2 separate regions of the Homo sapiens genome follow, and region 2 is linked to region 1. Evidence: promoter capture Hi-C in human tissues and cell types (Jung and others, 2019). All regions are on one chromosome and are shown on one strand. The core of a region is centred on a gene start or on the middle of the fragment in contact, and the rest is flanking DNA. Distances in the headings are between cores, read along the strand shown. Region 1 holds the start of TRAPPC10 (trafficking protein particle complex subunit 10). Region 2 overlaps ADARB1 (adenosine deaminase RNA specific B1).

Region 1 (6,293 bases), core at 2,317-4,816:
ATATTATTTTTATTTATTTTGAGATGGAGTCTTGCTCTGTCACCCAGGCTGGAGTGCAGTGGCACTATCTTGGCTCACTGTAACCTCCACCTCCCGGATTCAAGCGATTCTCCTGCTTCAGCTTTCCGAGTAGCTGGGGCTACAGGCGTGCGCCACCACACCCAGCTAATTTTTGTGTTTTTAGTAGAGATGGGGTTTCACCATGTTGGCCAGGCTGATCTCAAACTCCTGGGCTCAAGTGATCTGCCCACCTCGGCCTCCCAAATTTCTGGGATTACAGGTGTGAGCCACCGTGCCCAGCCTCCTTTGGACATATGTAGAGCTGCTTTAGAATCTTTGTAAATACAGAATCTGGTTCATTGTAGGGGGATTGGTTTCTGTTAACTGCTTTTTTTTTTTCTTAACTATGGCTTACGTTTTCCTCTTTCTTTGTATGTTTAGTGATTTTTGTTTTTTTAGTGTATATTCAACACTGATAAATAACAAATGAGGGAGACTCAGGGTGCTCTTCCACTGAAAAATCCTGACTTTCGTTCTAGTTTGTAGTTCCATTACTGGACGTACCATGCTGGGCTGTGTAGGCTTAGCTTTAGGCTCTGTTTACTGAGCAATGTCCCAGGTGTCTCCCAGGCCCCTCTTACTTGGCAGGACTTAACCTCCAAACTCTGACCGTCTTGTGGATCGGGTCAGGGTTTTGCTTTAGACGTTGTTAAGGCGGGCCTGGAGTAGTCCTTATTCTAGGGGAGGGACTGGCAACCTCTGGCTCACAAGCCACATGTGTTGATGGCCTGTTTTTGTACAGCACTTAAAGCCAGGAATGGCTTTTATATTTTTAAAGAGTTGTTTAAAAAAAAAAAAAAAACAAGCAAAAATATGAAACAAAAACTGCATGTGGCCCACACAACCTAAAATACTTATCTGGGCCCTTTATAGGTCGTTTGCTGACCCCTGGGAATGTGATTCTCAATCTAGTGTCTCAGCTCAATGTCCTCAGTGTTAATGGCATTAAAAAGGTCTTGACTGGGCACGGTGGCTCGTACTCGTCATCCCAGCACTTTGGGAGGATTAGGCAGGAGGACTGCTTGAGGCCAGGAGTTCAAGACCAGCCTGGGCAACAGAGTGGGACCCTCTCTCTACAAAAAAAGAAAAAATTAGCCGGGCGTGGTGGCACTCACCTGTGGTCCCAACTACTTGGGAGGCTGAGGTGGGAGGATCACTTGAGCCCAGAAGTTCTAGGCTGCACTGAGATAACGATCAAACCACTGCACCCCAGCCTAGGTGACAGAACAAGACTGTCTGAAAAGAAAACAAAACGGAAAGTCCTTTCCTGTAGCACTACTGGACCTCTAGTCTTTGTGCCATCCTCAACTCTGTAACAGCCGCTTCCTGGTAAACCCATAGAGTCGTCCCACACGTGTAGTCCAGCCTAGGCCAAGGACTTTCAGGGAACCCTACATCGACTTCGGCTCCCCACTCTTGCTAAGCTTCTTCCCCTCCAGTGCCCTGCCTTGCCGGCCTGCTGCTTTAGCTGCCCAGAAGTCTGGTCTCTTGCCTCTCACACCATTACAGTGCACCACACTACACTATGTTCACACATTTAGCAGCTGTGTTCACACCCAAACTATCTCATATATACATTTTGTTAAAAAAAACTTCAGGACTCTCTAAACTTATGATGCCAAGGGTGAAGTTAAGCCCTGGAGACTGAGTCAGTAGCAAGTTTGCAATTCTGCTTCTTCGATTACAGTTTAATGCTCTTCCTCCTTGTTCTTGAGCACAAGTGTCTTCCTCATTGTGGCTGCTCTGTAAATCAGGGCTCCCCGACCGCCAGGGCCACAGACACATACCGGTCAGGCCACACAGCAGGAGGTGAGCTTCAGGCCAGGGAGCAAAGCTTCATCTGTATTTACAGCTGCTCCCCATCGCTGGCATTACCGCCTGAGCTCCGCCTCCTGTCAGGTCAGCAGCAGCGCTGGATTCTCCTAGGAGGGTGAACCCTGTTGTGAACTGCACATTGGAGGGGTCTAGGTTGCGTGCTCCTTATGAGAATCTCATCCCTAATGATGTGTCCCTGGCTTCCATCATCCCTAGATGTGACCGTCCAGTTGCAGGAAAACAAGCTCAGGGCTCCCACTGATTCCACATTATGGGAAGTTGTATTTTATTACATATTACAACATAAAAATAATAAAGTGCACAATAAATGAAATGTGTTTGAATCGTCCTGAAACCACCCCAACTTTGTCTGTGGAAAAACTGCATTCTATGAAACTGGTCCCTGGTGCCAAAAAGGTTGGGGACTGCTGCTGTTAATGACTAAGAAAGACCAGGTCTCCCCCTTCCCATTTGGTGATTTTTGTTACAGATTAGCTGTCTCCATTGTCCTGTACCTGACTTAGACCAGACAGCACAGAGACCCCAGGACTGTTTCATCTTCAGTGGGTCCCCAAAGAAAAAGACCACCTCGACTAAACAGACTGTTGTAACTATGCATTAGGCCTTATACAGAAAAGACGCTGAAATTCGGTTAGGCTTCCCGAGACGCTGGCTATAGAAACGACCCCAAATTTCTACGTTTGAGAACACTGACTTCCATTCTTTATAATGTTTCCTGGGCGCCTCAAGCTTCGCATTTGACTAAACTCTAGATTCTGACCCTTTTGATTATTTTTGGTTGACAGTTTTTGTCATTTTATGGCTGGGAGTGATGGCTCACACCTGTAATCTCAACACTTTGGGAGGCCAAGGCTGGAGGATCACTTGAGCCCAGGAGTTTGAAACCAGCCTGGAAAACATAGTGAGATCCCGACAAAAGAAAAGAAAAGAAAAAAATTAGCTGGGCGTGGTGGCTGCCCCCGTGGTCCCAGTTACTGGCGGAGGGGGTGGGGCGGGGGGAAACAAGGCGGGAGGATCGCTTGAGCCTGGAAGGTGGAGGCTGCAGTGAGCCGTGTCCCGCCACTGCACTCCAGCCTGAGCCAACTGAGGAAGACCCTGCTCCAAAGAAAAAAAGAAAAAGAAACACCCGCGCCCCGCCCCCCCCGTTTACGTGCACAAGAAGCCCATATGCAGTTAAGTGTGAGGTTTATTTTGTGGCATTCCGAAATGCCGAGGGCCAGGTCCCCACAAAAACATTTGCGGCGTGAGGGAAACGGGAAGAGCCCAGCGGTAGGCGGAAGGCACGCGCCGGGGACACTCAGCGGCGAGGGCCTGCGGGAGCCCCCAGCGCGATAAGGAGCCCGGCCGGGGAGCAGCGGCCCGCCGCGGGACGCCCGAGCTGCGGGGAACGCGAGGGCAGCGAGGCCGGCGTCTCTGGTCCGGGAGCGTCCAGGCTCGCTCACCGCGCGCGAGGCCCGCCTGCCGAGTCCTGGCCTCAGCTCCGGCGCAGGGCCCAGCGGGGCGCCCACTGCCGAGGGAGGAAGATGGACGTGTCCCGGGAGCCCCGCTCCGCCTCCCACTTCCCACCTCCCGGTCCCGCGCGGCCGGCCCGGGCGCACTTCCGTCGGAGGCGAAGCGCGGCGAAGACCCGCCCCGTGAAGCCTCGCGCGCCCCGGAAATGGTCATGCGGCGGCGCCGAGGCCGGAAGTGGCTGAGGCCGGCAGCAGCGGGCGGCAGCTGCGGCGCAACCGGCTCCGGAGCTGCCTGGCGCGGCCGGGCGGGCGGCGCCGCTCAGGCTCGGGCTCCGGCTGGGCCCGGCGCGGCCTCGGGGCTGCCCATGGGGCGCGGGGGGCCGGGCCGGTGACGCCGGACGCCCATGGACGCCTCTGAGGAGCCGCTGCCGCCGGTGATCTACACCATGGAGAACAAGCCCATCGTCACCTGTGAGTGCCCGGAGGCGGGGAGGGCGCGGCGGTCGTTGGGCGGGCCCGGGCCCTGGCGTTATGCACCCGGCGCCCCCAGACCTTCAGCCCCCGGCGCGCTCCGGGCTGGGCCGCTTCCTGGAGGTGTGACCAGGGCTGCGGCTGAGGCGGGGCCCTCTGACTTTTCGGGGACGCCCTCTGACCTTCCCGCCGGGCGACCTCTGACCCCTGGGGGGCGCCCTCGGGCCGGCTGCAGTTGGAGCCGGTGGAACCCGGCGGACTCTGCCCGGGACTGGGCGCGCGCCGGCGTCGAGGGCGAGGAGCGGGGGCTGCCACCGCCCCGTCCCGCCCCCGTTGAGCCGCGCGCCCGGGACCTGGGGGCCCCGGCCTCTTCCGCCGGGCGGTTTTGCCCGCGGGCGCCCTTTCCCCGACTACGGGGAAGTCCTTGGGGGCTCGCAGAGTTGCAGGCGTTGGCGAAGTAGGAACAGTTTGTTGCGGGGTGAAGCGTCAGGCAGAGCCGCCGGGACTGCTTTCGCTCCTACACACTTCCCCGCCGCGCACTCAAACCATTTTACGGATGAGAAAGCCGAGGCTCGGGCGCTTAGGCGAGCTTGCTCCCCATGAACAGCCTCCCGCTCGAGTCTACACTACGGACACCTGGTGCCTCTTGGGTGTCGTGTCCTCCCCGCACCCCTCCTTTAATGCATACACAAAGGAACTGTTTTTCTGTTACGGGAAAAATGTTCCCTAAATTTTAGAAGTGTGACTCTCCAGAGTTAAATACGGTTAAGAACAGTGAGCTTATGGGAAGTATTGAAATGTTTGTTGGTTGGCTTTTAGGTGACTTGCAGAGAGGTGTTTCAGACTGTTACGATTTTTGACCTTTGACAGTATTCTGTATTTTCATGCATGTATGCAGTTAGTTTTTTTCTAGTTGTCTTTCGTGCTTGGAAAGGAAGCACTCTCTGTTGCAAAATCTGGGTGCCCAGGCCACAGTAGACTGTATGTCGTGAGAACTCCTGTTTCCCTCTCACTCTGTCAGCGGGTGTGCACCTGCTGTGTTCCTTCCTGTTAGATCCCTGAGAAACTGTATATTGAAGGTTGAATTTTGTTGCTTCAGCTTTAGGTGATAGACTTATTTCTTTCCTTCCTTTTGCTTTATTTTGTCTCTTCTCCTCTCCTCCTCTCTCTTTTTTTTCTACAGAGACCTAGACGAGATGATAGACTTTTCTTAGGGAAGTGGACTGTGTCTCATTTAAAATTGGAGACTTGCATAGTTCAGCAGTAGCTGTCTTTTTTCCTCCCCAGAATATTTGTCAGCTGAAAGTCTTTTCCTACTCTGCACCTTCAGCCCCAGAGGGCAGATGTGGGTAGAGCTGGTCTGCAGGCCCTGCAATTTCCCAGGGGCTTTCCCAGTGCTCAGGGAAGATGAAGCCATGCGCAGTTCATGTTAAGTTTTACTGTCTTCCAGAGGTTGAACATTTTTCTCCTAAAGTGCTGTGCACGTTGTGAATGCTGGATACACATTCATTGCCTGTACGGACATCCACACATCTAATTTTATCTTCTACCTCCTAGCTTGCTTACATTTCAATAGCAATATGTATTTATAGGCATTATGTAAATACATTTCTGAGGAGAAAGTTCCTAAGCTCTATTGGATTCAACCATAACTAAAGGGGTAAAGTTTGTTATCTGGTTGCCAGTGTTGGAGATATTTAATGTTTAGTTTTGTACATGCGTGCATCACGGACAGCTGAAGGATGCGGTTTTCTTTCCTACAGATTTATTGGATTGTCATCTTGGTGGTGGGTTTTTTCCTGTGTTTTGAGCAGCAGAGTGAATTTTTTTTTTTCCTTCTTCTTCTTTTTTGAGACGGCGTCTTTCTCTGTCGCCCAGGCTGGAGTGCAGTGGCATGATCTCGGCCATGATCTTGGCTCACTGCAACCTCTGCCTCCCGGGTTCAAGCGATTCTCCTTCCTCGGCCTCCCGAGTAGCTGGGATTACAGGCGCATGCTGCCATGCCCGGCTAATTTTTTGTTTGTTTGTTTTTGTTTTTTTTTTTTTTCAGTAGAGACAGAGTTTCACCATGTTGGTGAGGCTGGTCTCGAACTCCTGACCTTGGGTTGTCCACCTGCGCAGCCTCCCGAAGTGCTGGGATTACAGGCTTGAGCCCCCACCCTTGGCCTCAAGCAACATAGTGAATGTTAATCTCTGCATGGATGGTACACTGTCCTAGAAGGTGCAAACTTTCATTCATTGGAGTCTCAGAAGAGAAGGGGGCTTCAGTAGACTGTCAAAGTTAACTTGAAAAATGATCACTTTAAAAGTGAAGGTAAAAAGCTGACTTCATACTTCCCACTTGAAATTATGTTGTGGTATATCTGGGACTGAAGCTTTAGGAAGCACTTGGCCTGGTTTCACTTTATGCCTTCATCTTGCTCCTCTCTTTCAGCTATACATGTTTTGAAAGGAGAAGGTGGTATGAACAATTGC
Region 2 (6,293 bases), core at 2,551-5,050, 1.1 Mb after region 1:
CTTCATGCTCCTCCCTGATGATAACTCCCCCTCATCCATATGACACATCTAATATATACTACGTGTGTGTGTGTGTGTGTGTATAATTAATTATAATTATTATTATTTTGAGACAATGTTTTGCTCTGTGGCCCAGGCCAGAATGCAGTGGTGTGATCACAGTTCTCTGCAGTCTCAACTTCCTAGGCATAGGTGATCCTCCCACTGCAGCTTCCAGAGCAGTTGGGATTACAGACATGAGCCACCACTCCTGGCTAATTTTGTTTACTTTTTATAGAGATGGTGTCTCCCTGTGTTGCCCAGGCTGTTCTTGAACTCTTGGGCTCAAGCGATCCTTCCGCCTCTGTCTCCCAAAGTGCTGGGCTTACAGGTGTGAGCCATCGTGCTGGCCTTTTTGTTTGTTTTTGAGACAGTGTCTCACTCTGTCACTCAGGCTGGAGTGCAGTGGCAGGATTATGGCTCACTGCAGCCTTGAACTCCCAGGTTCAAACAGTCCTCCCGCCTTAGCCTGCTGAGCAGCTGACACCACAGGTGCACACCAGCATGCCTCGCTGAGTTTTTAATTTTTTGTAGAGATGGGGTTTCCATGTGTTGCCTAGGCTGATCTTGAACTCCTGGCCTCACGTGATCCTCCTGCCTTGGTCTCCCAGAGTGCTGGGCTTATAAGTGTGAGCCACTGTGTTTGGTAATATCCTATATTTTGAAATAATACTGTCCTTTTCTTTTTAATTTTACCATGTAAGAATGCATCCCCAATCAATGTAGTTCAGTTTTGCCTGTGATGGAACTTTATCCAAGGGGAGTCATCAGTATATTCTTTTGTGTTTCTCTTGATTTATTAATGAAGTGGATTACATAAATCGATTTTCATACATTAAATCATGTTTGCATTCCCATCATAAATTCATCTTAATCATGTTTGATCGCTTTAAAAAATATTATTGGATTGAGTGTGATCACATTTTGTATACGATGTTTACACTGTATTTGTAAGATTGACTTACTGCTTCCTTTTCATCTTCACAGAAGTGTCTTGTTGAATGTTGGATTCACTTTCTAGAGAAGCCATCTAGTCATGGAGTGTTCTTTCCAGGATGATTTTTGTTTACTGACTATAATCCATCCCTCCCTCCCTGCATTCCTTCCTTCCTTCCCTTTTCTTCTCTTTTCTTTTTCTTGAGACAAGGTCTCACTCTGTCTCCCAGGCTCTAGAGTGTGATGGTGCAATTTCGGCTCACTGCAGCCTCTGCCTCCTGGGCTCAGACGATCCTCCTGCCTCAGCCTTCTGAGTAGCTGTGACTACAGGTGCACGCCACCACACCTGGCTAATTTTCTTTATTTTTTTTGTAGAGACAAGGTCTCACTATGTTGCCAGGACTGATCTTGAATTCCTGGGCTCAAGCAGTCTGCCTGCCTCGGCCTCCCAAAGTGCTGGGATTCCATGCATGAGCTACTGCATCTGGCTTCTAATTCTTTAATGTTTGTAGTTTTGTCAGATTTTCTGTTTCCTCCTGAGTTAGTGTTAATAAGTTGTATTTCTTTTCTTTTTAAATGGTGTGTGTGTGTGTGTGTGTATGTGTGTGTGTGTGTGTGTGTGTGTGTGTGACAGGGTCTCACTCTGGTTGCCTAGGCCGGAGTGCAGTGGTGCAATCTCAGCTCACTGCAGCCTCGACCATTCAGGCTCAGGTGATTTCTCACACCTCAGCCTCCGAAGTAGCTGGGATGACAGGCGTGTGTTACTACGCCTGGCTAATTTTTGTATTTTTAGTACAGATGGTTTTGCTATGTTGCTCAGGCTTGTCTTGAACTCCTGGGCTCAAGTGATCCACCTGCCTCAGCCTCCCAGAGTGCTGGGATGACAGACGTGAGCTACCGCACCCAGCCTAATAAGTTGTATTTCTCTTGGAGTTTCTTCATTTAACCTAAGCTTACAAGCTTTTTGGAATAAAGTTTATAAAGCCTCTTACTATATTTTTAGTGTTGTCAGAGTTTAAGTGATAATTCCATTTTGGTTTCTCTTGCCGCCTGATGACCCATTCCCAACTTAGTGACATAAACAACAATCACTTTATTAATGCTCAGCCAGGTAGCCTGAGTGTCTGGAGCTCTGCTTCTGGCTGTCAGCTGTGGCTTTCTTGGTTCTTCTCAGTGTCCTGTATGAGAAGGCTTCTTCAGTGAGGTGGCTGGCTCCCGCCTGGGGCTGACTAGACATCCTTCTCTGCATGTAGCCCCTGTGATCTCTTCAGAGCATCTGAGTTGGCTCCCCAGAGACAGTGTTCCCAGAAATAGGAGGTGGAATCTGGCTTCCTCTTCAGGTGCTGGTCTGGACCTGGCAGTACCACGCCTGCTGCGTTCAATGGGCCAGAGCAGTCACCCGCCTGCTGGGACTCATTGGGGGAAGTAAGATCTTCCCACACAAGGACAGGAGAGTCACATTGTGGCCATCAGGCCTTCCTGCCCTCCAATTCAATTCCAAGGCTGGTTAATTTGGGCTTTTTCTCTTGTGTTCCCTTTCTGTGTTTCCATGAGTCTTGCCAGAGATCACTGGTTCACTGCATTGTCTTTTCAAAGAACCAATGTTTATCTTTGTGTACCTGCCGTTATATGTAATTAATACAGGTTGAATTTCTTACTAGTTCCCTTTTTCTGTTTTCTTTGAGCTTACTTTGTTCTTCTCTCCCTGACTTGTTCAGGTAGGCACTCTTTAATTTTTTTACTCCTATTCTAGCTTGAGCACCGAGCTATAAAGGTCCCTCTGATGTACTGCTTTATCTGTGTGCCACACAATTCTGTACATAATCTTTTCTAGTTTTAAGTTCTAAGTGTTTTCTGTTTTCTCCTGTGATTATTTTCTTTTGTCTATGGATTATTTAGAAGTGTATTGCTGAACTCTCAGACATATGGGACTTTCTAGTTATACTTGGCTTGTTAATTTCTAGGCTCATGGTATTACGATCAGAGGATGAGCTCTGTCTGATTTCAGCCACCTGAAATATGTTGAGATTTTCTTTACGGCTGGGATATGGTCTATTTTTAGAAGTGGCTCATGTGTCCTTGAGGAGCTGATGTGTGATGCACTGTTAGGAGCAGCGTCTTGCATGTGACCACCATGCAGCTTGTTAATTGTGTTGTGCAGATCTTCCATCTCTCCACTGTTTTGTTTTTTCAGCCGCTGTCTGCTGTCTCTGTCACCTGCTCCTCTCCACTCCCTCCATGACAAAAAGACTCCGGTGTTTTTGACCATCTTTTATTGCGCCCCTACTGTGATCTTAGTCACGGGGCCAAGCACTCTACATCTGTTCCTCCATTTAATCCTCACGGCACCATCTGCGGCGGGTGTTCCTTGTGTCCTCGTCCTGTCCTCATAGGAGCAAGCCTGGAAGGGGCTGAGTCACTGTTCAAGTCACACGACTGCAAGGCTGAGGTCTAGGGTGGTGGCCTGGACCCCTCTTTCCTGGAAGCCATGCTTTTCCTGAAACCCCTTGCAATACTCCTGGCAAGTATGGCAGTTTTACCTCAGTTGGTATGAGTGTACTCAAATGGGAGGCAACCATTCTCACACTTGATGTTTAGACTTTGCAGCTTCCAAAACCCACTCTGCATATCACCTGCTCCCTCCTCAAAGTGGCTGGGCTTCCCATGCAGTTTCCCATCCTGCAGACGGCCCAGGGAGGTCAGATTTCTTGGCCAGGCTTGCAGAGTTGGTGGGACATGATGTGGGCACTAGAACCCAGTTCTGTAAATCTTGGTTTCATGTCCTTTCTGCTGTGTTTTTCTTTCTCTGTTTAGGCGGTGGACTTTTTGGTGTGTAAAGCTTCTAGAATGGATTTTACTTCTTTGTGGCTCTTTGGATTGAGGGAGGGGCTAGGTGCCATCTCCAGAGAAGCTTGTTCAGCTCATGCTCACTCGGGGCCCTTGCTCTCTGCCCACTGGGGAGGGGCTGTGGTGGAGCTGGATTCGGACTGAGTGGAGGCAACGCTGAAGGTCAGAGGCCAACGTCCTTGCACTTCTTGACACTCTCCACCCAGGCGTGGTGATTGGGACCGCTGGGGAGGGTGATTTGGGAGCTTGAATCTGGTGTGGGGATGATGGGGGTCATTGATAGTGGGGACAGTTCTGGACATGTGGCCCTCATTCTCTGTGCTGGACAAGATGACTCTGTGACCTGTAATTCCAGGCTGATAGAGCATTTTCAGTGACAGCCCATTTGACTTGATGGTGCTAGTGCAGGACACAGGTGAGCTTGTCTCTGTGTCTTAGGTCTGTCCCAGCAGACGAGCTGACGTGTGTTGTAGATGAATGTCAGCTGGTCACAGGTGGGAGGTTTGGAAGGTAGCCTCCAATCTCCTCTGAGGACTGCAGCAGCGACCGGGGCAGCAGGAACGCATTGTGATGGCCTGGCCAAGTCTGCATAGCGAGAGTCGAGCCACTTTCACGCGCACCTTATCCCACACTTCACCTCCTTCCTCCAGGTTCCCACTCAGAAACCCGCTCACCCCTGGACACACCTCCCAGAGACTTCTCTTTGGAACTCTGCAATGGAGAAACCCATTGCAGACTTCCCCTTCTTTTGGATATCAGTTTGCTTTTCAGGAAGAAAATTTTAATACTCCATATTGAGGTTTTATAATTATATTAGCATGTTGAAACATTTTCTCTAATGGCTTGCTGGTTGAAAACGCTTTCACACAGAGCAGAAACTAGATGGAGATACTGTTTCACAACCTCTGCTTCAGAAGCAGAGGTGGCCTGTAGCTTCCAAACCCGGGCAGAGCACGTGCAGGGATGGTGCGTCTCTGTATCTGGACTCACATTCACATGTGTGCATGTGTAGGGGTGTGTGCATATTGAATTGTAAAAAAGATGAGTACGTGTGAGATTCTGCCTGAGACTCCAGTCCTCAGTGTGTGGCCTGGTGCCGCTGATGCCGAGATGTTGGGCTGGCAGCGATCTGCCTCCGTCTGTCACAGGTGCCTCTACCTGCTGCAGGCAGACGGACGGAGACGTGATGGATTGCGCATATCCCCTTTACAGATTCGGAAGAGTACATTTAAAATAACTTAAATTTGTATTTAGAAGACTTTTCATGGAGAGTATTTATTGTTATAGAGTTCACTTCTGAAATGGTGACAAAGCTTTTGATACTGAATCAAACAAGTGTGAAGTTACCGAATCTCTCTGTTACACAGAGTGGAGCCTTTCAGGCTGGCATGGAGAGCTTAAGGGGCAACTGAAGGAGACACACTGGCCAAGCGCGGAGTTCTGCTTACTTCAGTCCTGCTGAGATACTCTCTCAGTCCGCTCGCACCGAAGGAAGCTGCCTTGGGATCAGAGCAGACATAAAGCTAGAAAAATTTCAAGGTGAGTAAAAACCTGTAAAGATCTGATCAAATCTGACTGGTAGAAATGCCTTTTTCTTGATATAAACCGCTTAATTAAGCCTTTTGGCTTGCCTTTGAAAGATGCTTTATTGAATACTTCCCGGCACAGATGATCTGTTACTGTTGGTTGATTTCTAATCTTACTGCAGCCTTAGCTCACCCATGAGTCCCTCCTGCTTGTTCTGGGGTGGTGCCTGCTGCCCTCCAGTGGCATGTGTGGCACCTGCTGCCCTCCAGTGGCATGTGTGGCACTTGCTGCCCTCTTTGGGGTCAGTTCACCATTTATTGAGTCAGTGCTTCATGCCGGGCACTAGACTTGGTGAAAGCCTTTTACCATCAATTATTATTTTCTTAGGAGTAATTAAAAGAAAATTTTCCTGTAATCCCAGCACATTGGGAGGCTGAGGCAGGCAGATTACTTGAGGCCAGGAGTTTGAGACCAGCCTGGCCAACGTGACGAAACCCCATCTCTACCAAAAATACAAAAATTAGCCAGGTGTGATGGTGCACGCTTGTAGTCCCAGCCTCGGGAGACTGAGGCAGGAGAATCGCTTGAACCCGGGAGGCAGAGGCTGCAGTGAGCTGAGATCATGCCGTTGCATTCCAGCCTGGGTGACAGAGCAAGACTCTTTCTCAAAAAAAAAAAGAAGAACATTTCTTTAGTACTTATTTTTGGCGACTATCTCATGATTCAGCGTCTGCTTTTGAGAGAAGTTGTGACAAATACTAAAATCCCAGTAAAATTAGTATGGTGTCAGATTAATTTACTTATGAGCAGCTGAGTGACTAACTCAGGAAGTCCAGTTGTACATTTCCAGGGAAGCTTTTTCATGGGTTCAGATGAGATGAGGGGAAAGAGAAGGTGTCAGAGGGCTGCTGCTGGCTGGAGGAACGCAGGTGTGCTCCTGTGTC

The links. The method cuts DNA at HindIII sites, captures the fragments that hold promoters and counts their contacts. A contact is called where the count stands out against the background at its distance.
Region 2: a contact is called between a fragment that was not itself captured here and the fragment with the promoter of TRAPPC10 in region 1, in 1 of the 25 tissues and cell types used here (dorsolateral prefrontal cortex).

What each region holds. Positions count from the first base shown.
Region 1 is chr21:44,008,743-44,015,035 of GRCh38, forward strand. TRAPPC10 (trafficking protein particle complex subunit 10) reads left to right here and starts at 3,567. Exons shown (of 23, transcript NM_003274.5): 1 at 3,567-3,818. The coding sequence starts at 3,752. RefSeq lists silencers at 3,192-3,571, 3,722-4,391 and enhancers at 4,942-5,001, 5,022-5,071. The HindIII fragment of the contact is 5,486 bases long and covers 2,260-6,293 here.
Region 2 is chr21:45,123,213-45,129,505 of GRCh38, forward strand. ADARB1 (adenosine deaminase RNA specific B1) reads left to right here. Exons shown (of 11, transcript NM_001112.4): 2 at 5,190-5,361. Among named protein-coding and RNA genes, the nearest start is that of ADARB1, 52 kb to the left of the region's middle. RefSeq lists an enhancer at 2,238-2,417. The HindIII fragment of the contact is 3,738 bases long and covers 1,932-5,669 here.